Regions from separate parts of the Homo sapiens genome. Here region 2 is linked to region 1. Evidence: promoter capture Hi-C in 16 types of primary human blood cells and fetal thymus (Javierre and others, 2016). All regions are on one chromosome and are shown on one strand. Each heading gives the region's core, a stretch centred on a gene start or on the middle of the fragment in contact. The rest is flanking DNA. Distances are from core to core; before and after follow the strand shown. Region 1 holds the start of CYB561 (cytochrome b561). Region 2 overlaps KCNH6 (potassium voltage-gated channel subfamily H member 6).

Evidence for each region. The method cuts DNA at HindIII sites, captures the fragments that hold promoters and counts their contacts. A CHiCAGO score of 5 or more calls a contact.
Region 2: a fragment that was not itself captured here is called in contact with the fragment with the promoter of CYB561 in region 1 in 2 of 17 cell types (M0 macrophages and M1 macrophages); the score reaches 6.1 in M0 macrophages.

Annotation. Positions count from the first base shown.
Region 1 is chr17:63,442,169-63,448,402 of GRCh38, forward strand. CYB561 (cytochrome b561) reads right to left here and starts at 4,138. Exons shown (of 6, transcript NM_001915.4): 1 at 4,077-4,138. RefSeq lists silencers at 3,835-4,394, 4,565-4,754 and enhancers at 4,724-5,537, 4,895-5,034, 5,538-6,234. The HindIII fragment of the contact is 2,186 bases long and covers 3,210-5,395 here.
Region 2 is chr17:63,540,464-63,546,230 of GRCh38, forward strand. It overlaps KCNH6 (potassium voltage-gated channel subfamily H member 6), which reads left to right. Exons shown (of 13, transcript NM_001278919.2): 9 at 1,778-1,971; 10 at 3,113-3,197; 11 at 3,786-3,948; 12 at 4,615-4,801; 13 at 5,146-5,767. The coding sequence ends at 5,439. Among named protein-coding and RNA genes, the nearest start is that of DCAF7, 7.1 kb to the right of the region's middle. The HindIII fragment of the contact is 1,278 bases long and covers 1,273-2,550 here.

The DNA of each region.
Region 1 (6,234 bases), core at 2,888-5,387:
GTCCGTAGGTTCTGAGCGTGGCTCTGTGCTTTACAGGAGATAAGCGGAAGATCCCTTCCGCAACAGGACTCTCGTGAGGCCATTCATTGGACATAATTGATAACCCATTTGTGTGCAGGGAAGGGCTGTCCCATGCCAGAGGTGGGGGTGTACAGGGATAGACATTCTGGTATCTCTGGACAGAATCTGACCCACCCACAAATGTGTCTGCTGCATTTGCAAACCTGGACATTGGGTGAGATTTCTCCCTAGGAAGCAAGGCTTTGAATCGTGGCCCTCATTTCCCAGTCTTGACAGCAAGAATACTCTCTCGCTCTTCCCTCCTCACTGGGCAGCCCTGGGACACCGGCTGTTCTTGGGCCCTCTGTGTTCTCAGAGCAGAACTGTGGGCAGCAGCTTCAAGGCCTGGAAGCTGCCACTCCCCACCCCCAAGGGCTCCACTGCCCTGCAGACCAGAACCTTGCAACCAGAGGGAGCTCACGTAGCCCCTCACACAGTCACTTGCCTTCCTCTGTGACAGCTCAGGATGAGGGTGACAGATCTCTGGCAGTTTCTGGATCTTAGAGCTGTGAGAGTCACCCTCGTCCCCACCCACTCACCCTACCTGCAGCCAGAATCCACTTAATGCAATCAGCGCATTAGGGACAGCATGACCCGCAGATCTTCACTGAGCCAAGCATCGCTCTCCCTCCCGGTGCCCACTGCGTTTTATTAAAAGGCAACCAAGACTAATCTCATTATTGGGGACCAGACACTGCACATGGTGCACAGCCTCGGGGGCGGAAGGCGGAGCAGGGGAGGCTGGGAAGCGGGCAGCCTGGGCTGGCTACAGCCCTCCTTATCAACAGCAGAGTTTGAATTGAGTTAGGAAAGACTGTGACTGCGGAAAGGCCGATATCTCTTCTTGATGGGTGAAGGGGAAAACAGCTCAATTGCCCTAGAGCGTCCTAGCATGTGATGAAGGAGAAAGCAAAGTGTGGTGTGAGCTATTAGGGTACTTTCTTAGCACCCCAGTAGCCCCAGGAAGAAGGGGCTTCCCAGGCAGTGCTCCCCATCCCATGCCAGTCCTCCTGCATCCTCCCCACGCTTGTACCAGCATGGCACTAAGCCCTGGTGCATGCAGAGACACCAGGCCCTGACCAAAGGGTAAGAGAGAAGGCATTACAGGAGGGTGAACAAGCCGCAGGGGCTGCATTTCCATTTATCCTAGGGCGGCTGTCCTGGCCCAGGCAGCCCAGGGACCCGGGGTATCCAGGCTGCTTGGACCAGGTACCAAGGAACTAGGTACCCAGGAAGCAGCAGAGCCTGAAGTCAAACACTGAGCTCCTTTCTCCCACAAGACAGAGGGCTCCCAATGCTTACAAACCAAAATGTTTCCATTTCCATGAAAATCAGAAGAAAAAAATGAACATTTAGGGTTGAGGAAAATGTTGCAATTTTTTAAAACTTATTTTAATTAATTTTTTTGTTGTTGTTGTTAACAGTGTCTACCTCTGTCACCCAGGCTGGAATACGATGGCATGATCATAGCTCACAGCAGCCTCGAACTCCTGGGCTCGAGGGATCCTCCCACCTCAGCCTCTCAAGTAGCTGGAACTACAGCTATGCTGAAATGCCCAGTTAATTTTTTCTTTTTTTGGAGAGATAGGGTCTCACTATGTTGTGCAGGCTAGTCTCAAACTCCTGGTCTCAAGCAGTCCTCCTGCCCCAGCCTCCCAAAGCTCTGGGATTACAGACAGACATGAGCCAGCCCTAAAATGTTTTGTTTTTAAAATTAATTGTAATCCAGTCTGGACTATACTTGTATTTATACCAATGCAGTTGTAAAATATAATTTTTATTAATTTTTTTTTTTTTGAGGCTGGAGTGCAATGGCAAGATCTCGGGTCACCGCAACCTCTGCCTTCCGGGTCCAAGCAATTCTCCTGCCTCAGACTCCCCGAGTCTGGGATTACAGGCGTGCTCCACGATGCCTGGCTAATTTTTTGTATCTTTTGTAGAGACGCGCTTTCACCACTGCGCCGGGCCAATTGTTATTATTTTTTTTATGGAAGACGGGGCCCGTGAAGGCCAGAGGGCCAACGGCCCATGAAAGGCCCAGCGCAGCCCAGGTTAGAGAGATGTGATTTCAAAACAGACTCATTATTTATAACCATCAGCTCCTGGACAAGCCAAGTCCCTTCTCCAAGCCTGCTTCCTAATCTATAAAGTGGAGGATATCTGGAGCTACCTTATTGAACACAGAAGGAGTAAGTGGATAAAGGTGTGCCAGCGCCCAGCACAGTGCCTGCCACAAAGTAGGCATTCCATCAAAGACCAATCTTACAAAAACGAAATCTGGTCCTAAGAGCACCTTAGAAAGAGTCACACTGCTGACACATGAGGTTTGGGGCCACAGAGAGCCAGATGGCAGCCGTCTCTAATAAATCTACACTCCATTGCTGTCCACCATTAGCCCCTGCACACCAAGCAGAAGCTCCTGGGGCTGGAAGAACACAGGATGGTCTGCTTTTAATCTGTGACATTGTATATTCCCAAAATTCATTTATGAATTGTTCAGACAGTAGAGTGCTTTTTCCCAGTGAAGCTACGCTTTCAGAGGGGGTTAATTTCTCATTCCCCTCCACCAATGCCATCTAATGCCACTGAACCATCCCAGTATTAGCAGGAGCCCAAGCTCTGCCTGCCAAGGAAAAGTGGTGAGGGCAGAAAAGTAGTAGGACAAGGCTGGGCACGGTGGCTCACGTCTGTAATCCTAGCACTTTGGGATGCCAAGGCGGGCAGATCACTTGAGGTTAGGAGTTCGAGACCAGCCTGGCCAACATGGTGAAACCCCGTCTCTCCTAAAAATGCAAAAATTAGCTGCGTGTTGTGGCACACACCTGTAATCCCAGCTACTAGGGAGGCTGGAACAGGAGAATCGCTTGAACCCGGAAGATGGAGGTTGCAGTGAGCTGATATTGCCCTCTGCACTCCAGCCTCCTGGCAACAGAGCAAGACTCCATCTCAAAAAAAAAAGAAGGAAGGAAAGTAAGGAAAGCAAGAAAGCAATAAAGCAAGAAAGAAAAGGAGTGGGACAAGCAGGGTGGTTCCACCTCCAGCTCTAGGAGGCTCCCTCATGCAAGGAGGTGGGGCTGCCACCGCCTCGTATTTTCCTGCCTCCATCAAATTTCACCGGGAGAAATCCAGGCACCTAGAGGAGGTGGCAAAGCTTTTTTTTTTTTTTTTTCATTAGCTATTAAACCAAAGGGGCAGAATCTAGGCGCCCTAGATGTAACTTCATTTACGGAGTCAGAAAATCCACAAAGGCTGCCAAGGTGGAATGAATGAGAGGAGGACGACCAGAAAGGAGAAGTCTGGGAAGGGGACCCCAGATCCACACGGATGATCCTCGCTCCGTGATACAGTCGGGGACAGGGCAGGGAGGGAGGGAGGGAGGGTGGCCCTGCCATCTCCCAGGTGTCAAGGTGGCGGCAGCTCCGCCCTCAGCGCAGTTGGCACCGGCCTGACCCACCACAGGGCCACCGAGGCCACCGAAGCCATGGGGCTTTCCCACTCGGGAAACTCCCACCCTCGCGCTCAGAAGCTGGGGGCGTCGGGAGACACAGGCGGGGACCTGCGGCTCCACGTTGCAGCCCGGGCCCTGCTCGGGGCAAGAGGCGGTGGCTCCGGTTTCAGATTTCAAGAGGGCAGCCGTGGCAAAGGCTGGTTGGTCCATTTGCACCCTACCTTGCTCTAGAACGCGGCGCAGGAGCAAAGATCCAAACTCGGGGTCACCAGCAAGCGGGGGTCTCGGTTCTAACTTCAGCAGAGACCCGGCACCCGGGCAGGCCAGGGCAGGGGCCGCCTGGACCGGGAGAGGCTCGGCTCCGAGAGGGCGGGCGAGCCCTGCAGCCCTCGGGCCCAGGGTGCGGGTCGGCGCCGCAGTCCAGTGCGCGGCCGCAAGGGGCAGGTGCGAGGCCGGCTGCTACTCGGGAGCCCCGCGCTGTCCCTCCCTGCGCAGTCAGGGCTCACCTGGGCCGCCCCCGCCCCGCACCCCTGCGCGCTCCGCTCCCACCCCCAGCCCGGCCTCCTACCTTGCCTACCCGAGCGTCCCTTCAGCCTCCCCGCGCCGCGCCCGGGTCGCTTGGCCGGTTCTGCGGGCCGTGGCGCGACGGCGTCGCCATGGCAACCGGGCGGCGGGCTGGGCGGTGTCTCCGGGACCGGAAGTGGCGTACGCGGCCCCCGGGGCTGCCCCGCACGTGCCAGGTCCCCGCGGTTGCGGCCACGCTCGGGACCGGGCCCTGCCAGCTCCGGGCCCGCACGTGGGCGAACCGCGGCCACCGTGAGCCCGGCCTCGCGACCTCCCTCCGGGGCCCCCATGATCGGGGGTGCGTGGGATCTGCGGCCTGCGGGGGTGGAGGGCCGGGAGCTCCCCCGGGCCTGCCTCGAGGGCCGCGGGATTCGTCCTTGCGAGCCCCGACTGCGCACGGAAGGACCTGGGGTCGGCCAGGCCTGGGGGATGGGACGGGCCCCGAGGAGAGCGGGTGCCAGGGGCGAGACCCGCCGCCCTTCCCCGGCTTGGTCCCGCGCTTCCTGATTTTCTCGCTCCACGCCTCCCATTCTGCCCTCCACCTTCTTCCCTGCCCCGCCCTCGCCCTGCCCGGGCCCAGGAGGCCACTAGATGTCAGACCCGGTTCGGGCCTTGGCCACGCCGCCGCTCCGGGAGCCCTGGGGGCACCTCCCCAGCCCCCACGGGGGAGACGATACTGCCGGGAAGGCCCGGACTAGCCCCCGCCCCCGCAGAGTAGCCTTCGGGGAACACCGATTCCACCAGGCTCTCACGAAAGCCGAGAGCTTGCCGTCCGCAGCTTCCCCTGCCCAAAGCGCAGAGAAACGAGGGCGCCGAGGCCAAGACCAAGACCGGGAGCCAGCCCCTTCGGAGCCCGGTCCAGGCCCCCGGTCCAGGAAGTGCTGTGGGTAGATAAGGGGCCCAGCTCAGACTTCCTACAAGCTGGGAAGAAAGGGTTCTTTCCTGTCTGATGCCGGGCCAGATGTAGCAAGCGCCTAGGGGTAGGAGGGAAATGGGGTTTCCTCCCCGCAGAGGGAAACCGGCCTCCATTCAGGAACGCCCTCCCCCACCTGCCCTCCAGGCACCGAGGTTCTGGGAGGCCGGGGGGCAGGGAGACCTGCTTACTTGAATGCGCTTTGTGTATTGCCTGTGTATTGCCACAGGCAGTGGGCAAGATAGGCCCTGGGGATCCAGTACTCGCTTAGTACACAGAGAGCAGTCTCCAGCGCCAGGCGAGACGCACAGGCGTGTCAGCTGCATATGGCACACGGTGGCACATGGCACACCTTCCACGAGCAGACACAAGGGGCCGACACAGCAGGGCCCACCCCCTCAGAGGGACCAAGCTTAAACCCTCCAACAACAGAAAATTTGTAGAGTATCTTTCAGTTGGAGGAAATTAATGGATAATTTAAAGTAAGAAACAGTTTCCTTAGCGTGCTAACAGGCAGAATCCCTGTGGATTGAAGGTGGAACTGAGCCATGTCCTTTGTTTGGTCTGTGGATTTAGACGTGGAGGAGGAGTCCTGACCGGCTGAGCAGGGCTGAGTTCCCTCGTGAGAGCCCCGGGCCTTCAGCCCCTTCCAAAGCCAGGAGAGACTCCTGCTGAGGGGTGATAGGGGCCCTTTGGCTTCCCCCTCACCCCACGGCCCAGCAGCACGGGGCTGCAGGCTTTTCCCTTAGGAGGAAGAGCAGCCGCCTCCCTGCCAGCAGTGTTCTCAAGGGCCTGCTTCAAGTGGGGAGGGGTGGGTGAGGGTGTTCTGACTGAGGGAGAGGCCTGCACACCCGCTGCATGGGGGGGCTCATGGCTACACCTAACCCATTTTAAAGAACAGGCAACGCCACCAAACTGCTCTCTGGCACTAGGGCCCAGAGGCCTTGCCCCAGCTCCCAGATGTCCCAACCCAGGACGACAGACACCCAGACTAACTACCTTGCAACCCTGTTCCTGCTGCCGAAGCTCCTGCCTTGGAAGCCTGAGAAGTGTGCAGTCCTTCAGCTTGGGAAAGGTGGGAAAGGAGAGGACCCCTCCTGCCCTTTCTTGAGTGGCACAAGATGAGTTCCAGGGCCTCCTGAGTTGTGCTAACGCCTGTAATCCCAGCACTTTGGGAGGCCGAGGCGGGCGGATCACCTGAGATCGGGAGCTAGAGACCAGCCTGACCAACGTGGAGAAACCCCATCTC
Region 2 (5,767 bases), core at 662-3,161, 96 kb after region 1:
TGATTATTATTATTAATAATTAAGAAGTTAATCCAATTTAAGTTTCAGTTAGAGACATGAAACCTCTCATTTTGTCCTGAGTAGAAAAAGACACTAGATCAGAATCTTTCATCTACTGGAAAACCATCACATTATAATGTTGCCCAGATTTCAAGCTTCAGGGTTTCATGTGTGACCCTGGCAAGCCGCTTCCCTCTCCAGGCCTCAGCCCCCTCCTTTGTGAATACCCTTTGATCCTGTTCTCTTGTGGGGACATGTCTCAGCCTCCACCCATCCTTCTGTGCTAAACTGTTACTGCCACTTGCACTAACAAGTGGACTTTCTGGGGGAGTGGGAATCAAAGCAGTCATGCTCCGTGGCACCCCGGCCCTGGGCTCTCCACCCCTGAGCCCTGACAGTGCAGTGCTGATCACATGCTGTTTCTTCTGTCCTGACTGCCTTTCTCATGGGGGCTGGTCCTTGTTTCTCTCGACACAGCCCCCACTTCACTTCCTCTGTAAGCCCCCTCCTCTCTGCCCCAGCCACCCCTGGCAGGAGGAGCCCCTCCCTCCTCCATGGCCCCATAACTCTTGGTTCTTCCTGTTTCTAGGGCTCTACAGATCATGCTGTAAACTTGTTGGCTGCTTACGTACCTATCTTGCAGGGATTTGGGAGGGTCCTTGTGGGTGGCACAACATCTTATATTTATATCCTTTGGCCAGCACAGCACCTGGCACCAGGAGGGCCCAGTACCCTTGCCACATACCACATACCTGAACATCACCCATGTCTACCCTGGGATATTCCCCCTTGCCTTGCATGGACCTAGTCAGGTGCCTCTTGCTTTTTTTTTTTTTTTTTTTTGAGATGGAGTCTCGCTCTGTCACCCAGGCTGGAGTACAGTGGTGTGATCTCAGCTCCCTGCAAACTCTGCCTCCCGGGTTCAAGTGATTCTTCTGCCTCAGCCTCCCGAGTAGCTGGGATTACAGGCCACCATGCCCTGCTAATTTTTGTTTTTGCTGTTGTTGTTTTTAGTAGAGATGCGGTTTCACCGTGTTGGCCAGACTGGTCTCGAACCGACCTCAAATAATCCACTACCCTCAGCCTCCCAAAGTGCTGGGATTACAGGCGTGAGCCGCTGAGCCCTGCTGCCTGTTGCTTTTTGAGTCACTTTCTCAAGCATCACCTCATCTGCTTCCCTGAACAGTCCAGTGGGGTTGGCAAGGCAGATCAGGTTTTATCCATTTTAGAGATGAAGACTCTGGGGTCTAGACAGGGGGAGTAACTTCCCCAAGCTTCCTTCACCAGGGCCATGCTGGTTACCTGGCCCCACAATTGGGAGTGGGAAGACAGAGAAGCCTCTGGCCCTGCCCTGGCGGAGTTAGGTGCTCTGGCCCTGGGTTCCCTGCACCCTGCTCCACAGCACTGGCAGGCCAAGCAGCAGGAAGACGTTGAGACAGATGTTGAGCCTTTAGGGCCCCTTCCTGCCCACTGTGCCAAAGAGTATGGGCTACAGGAGGGAGATTCTGATGGAGGGTGGTTCTGAAGGGCCTGGAGACAGTGAGAGGAGCCACACGCCGGATCTCTGTGCCGCTCAAAGGACACAGGAAGAGAACAGCCCCACCCCTACCCTGCCACCCACAGCCAGCACATCCAGCCATGTCCCCAGAGCTCTATCCCAGGCAGCAGGCCCCGGCCTAGAAGGATGTCCGAGGTTGGGGGAGGTCACGGTCAAAGGACCCTCATAAGGGAGCATGGAGTCAGACCCTGAAGAGACTCCCACCCCTCTGGCTGGCAGGAAAGAATGACATCTTTGGGGAACCCGTCAGCCTCCATGCCCAGCCAGGCAAGTCCAGTGCAGACGTGCGGGCTCTGACCTACTGCGACCTGCACAAGATCCAGCGGGCAGATCTGCTGGAGGTGCTGGACATGTACCCGGCCTTTGCGGAGAGCTTCTGGAGTAAGCTGGAGGTCACCTTCAACCTGCGGGACGTGAGTCAGGGCCAGGTGGGCCAGGGTGGGTGGAAATGCCCAGGCAGCCTGCCTGGCCTGAGGGCACCCATCTGACCAACACCCTTCCTTTCAACCCCATCCTGCAACCTTTGCCATAATTTCTTTTGTGCCTACCATGGCTGGCGTCATGCTAAGTATGAGGATAGCTACTATTTATTAAGCAGTAGGGTGCTAAGGGTGGGGCTTCTTTTACATGATCTTCTTGCAAATGGTATTATTATCCCCAATTTTCAGATGAGGAAACTGAGGATTAGAGACAATAAATAAATTGGCCAAAGCCATTCAGCTAGTCAACGGCAGAGCCAAAATGTGAATTTAATTTGTCTGACTCCAAAGCCCAGGCATTCCTACTACATCATACCAAGCTGAAAAAGGGGGTGCCTTCTGTCCAGAGGGCTCACAGTGCCAGACACAGGGGCTGCCAAGAGGTGACAAAGCTGTCTCTTCTCATGCTCATCCCTCAGTAGAGGAGATTTTGACAACTCAAGAAAAATAAAGAGCCACAAAGTAAAACAGCCAAAGTCACGAAGGTATAAAGGAGAAGCCATGTGGAGCTCAAGCTTGCTAAGGAGTGGGACAGCCAGGACCGACCTGGGAATGCCCAGAGCGGGGTATCACGGAGGAGGAAACTAATGGGAAGAAGGGAGTGTGCATCTGGCAGGGAAACACAGAGCCCGGGCTATTTCTTCCCTGGTGCCCCGCCCCTCCACCTTGGGGGAGGGCCCTGCTGGCGTAGGCCCTGTGCCCAGCTTCCTGAGCATAGAGCTGGGTGGGCTTTCTGGCTGTGGACAGCCCTCCCCACACCATCCCCTCTCCCCCTCCTCAGTTTCTCCCCTCCCTCCCGCGATCTGCACAGGAGACTGACAGGTTAGGACTCTGCCCTCGGCCCCCAGCCATCAGGTGGCCAGAATGCCCAGCAGCTGGGCACCAGGACAGGAGGGGTGTGGTCTCTGCAGCCTGGGCCACCTGCAGGAAGTCGTCCAGGGCATCGCTGCTGTGCCCAGCTGCTTGTCATTCTTTCACCTAGTTGTGACAGCACCATGGGGTCAGGGCAGGGAAGAACAAAGAGGCCCCATCCCAGCTTTGGTTCCTGTTATTTCACCCTCTTGCTTCCCATAAGGCAGCCGGGGGTCTCCACTCATCCCCCCGACAGGCTCCTGGCAGCCAAGACCACCAAGGTTTCTTTCTCAGTGACAACCAGTCAGGTGAGCAAAGCCAGCCCCCACCCCCACCAGCCTGTAGCCCCTGCCCAGCCTCCTACCCCTCCCATGTCCTCTCCATCCTGCCTCCCCAGCGCCACCCCACTCCATGAGTGGAGAGGGGCTCCCTCTCTAGACCCAGAGCTGGAGCCTTGGCCCTCCTTCCTCCCCAGTCTCCCAGTCCTGATGGTCTGTGTCCTCAGAGGCAGAGTGAGGGCTCTGTGGTTCAAATGCAACCCCCAGGGGTGTATGGAGACTAGCCAGCCCCCTGAGGTTCCACACCAAGGCATCAGGGGGGCCACTGGGCTGCAGCTCCCTGGGCAGTGAAACCAGTGCTAAAAGTCCTCACCCTGCCAGGGTCTCCCCATGAGCTGGGGCCCCAGTTCCCCTCTAAGGGCTACAGCCTCCTGGGTCCTGGGAGCCAGAACTCCATGGGGGCAGGACCTTGTGCTCCAGGGCACCCAGGTAAGGAGAGCCACTCCTCACACCCTGTGTCCCCAGGGCAGGTAGGGGGTGGGGGACAGGCTCTATTGAGAAGGGTCAGGCCTGTGGAACCAGCTAGGCCCAGCTGAGACTTCCCTTTCCCTCCTGCAGATGCAGCCCCTCCCCTGAGCATCTCAGATGCATCTGGCCTCTGGCCTGAGCTACTGCAGGAAATGCCCCCAAGGCACAGCCCCCAAAGCCCTCAGGAAGACCCAGATTGCTGGCCTCTGAAGCTGGGCTCCAGGCTAGAGCAGCTCCAGGCCCAGATGAACAGGTGTGTGTGCTGTGGTCAGGGCTGGGGGCTGGTCATGGGTAGCCCCTCCTAGTGGCTCAGACACATCACAGGGTGCCAGGTGGGTTTTAGAATGGGGCAGGCCATTTAGCTGCAGGTCTCCCCATACCTGTCATTAAGCACAATTCCCCCAATGACTTCCCCTAGCAAACTCTGGAACATGCCAAGGGAGCTTCTCGGGGGAGGGGCACAACCATGTGCAGAAACAAATTCCATAGGTCCTGGGAAAGGGAGTGTGTCCTGTGGATGGCAGGGCTATGGTGGCAGAGCGAGGGCTTAGAGGCAGAACAGTCCAGGTTCAAATTCTGGCTCTGTTCCCTACCAGCAAGAGTGTGGGCAAGTTACTAAACAGCTCTGAACCTAGTTTGCCCTTTTGTGAAATGGGGATAATTGGAACATCCACATCAAAGCATCTTGGGGACTGAATCTTGTATGCTTGGTGCCTGCTCACTGGTGTTGTTAAGAGTCAGGGGTGTACCAGGGGGATTCTGGGCCGGGGCTGTGGATCCCAGTAAGGAAATAGCTTCAGGTAGGCCCCAGGCCGCCATTCCATCTAGCAGGAACAGCACGCAGGCTACAAGATTGACAGCTGCCCTCAGGAACTACTTTTGCCAGCCCTGACCCTGACTGTGGGGTTCTGTCTGGCAGGCTGGAGTCCCGCGTGTCCTCAGACCTCAGCCGCATCTTGCAGCTCCTCCAGAAGCCCATGCCCCAGGGCCACGCCAGCTACATTCTGGAAGCCCCTGCCTCCAATGACCTGGCCTTGGTTCCTATAGCCTCGGAGACGACGAGTCCAGGGCCCAGGCTGCCCCAGGGCTTTCTGCCTCCTGCACAGGTAAGAGGTGAGGGGATTCCCAGGGGCTTACCTGCGAGCAGCTGCATGCCTTCCCTACCCTGACTTGTTCACAGTGCAGCATCAGGCCCAGAGCCTCTGTGGCCCCAGAGCAGCCAGGGCTTCTGCTTACCTCCTTTATGATCAGAGTCATGATAGGGTTAGCCTGGGCAAGGTGCTGGCAAAGCCCAGAATGTGACTCCAGAGCCTGCAGCTGGGGCCAGGGCAGCAGGACCCTGAGGTGTGGGAAGGGCAGGTACAATTTTTGCCTGATCCCATCCCTGAAATCAGGGTGGATTAACCCGCAGCCTGGCCTGGGGTGCATCCCTCTTTCTTGCTCCTCCCAGACCCCAAGCTATGGAGACTTGGATGACTGTAGTCCAAAGCACAGGAACTCCTCCCCCAGGATGCCTCACCTGGCTGTGGCAACGGACAAAACTCTGGCACCATCCTCAGAACAGGAACAGCCTGAGGGGCTCTGGCCACCCCTAGCCTCACCTCTACATCCCCTGGAAGTACAAGGACTCATCTGTGGTCCCTGCTTCTCCTCCCTCCCTGAACACCTTGGCTCTGTTCCCAAGCAGCTGGACTTCCAGAGACATGGCTCAGATCCTGGATTTGCAGGGAGTTGGGGCCACTGAACTCCAAGATAAAGACACCATGAGGGGACTGAAGGTGGGCAAGGTGAGAGTTAAGGATCTTGGGGAGGTGGCCGGGTGCAGTGGCTCGCCTGTAATCCCAGCACTTTGGGAGGCCGAGGCGGGCGGATCAGACCATCCTGGCTAACACGGTGAAACCCCACCTCTACTAAAATTAAAAAAGAAAAAAAATAGCCGGGCGTGGTGGCAGGCGCCTGTAATCCCAGCTACTGGGGAGGCTGAGGCAGGAGAATGGCATGAACCCGGGAGGTGGAGGTTGCAGGGAGCCGAGGCCGCACCACTGCACTCCAGCCTGGGTGACAGAGTGAGA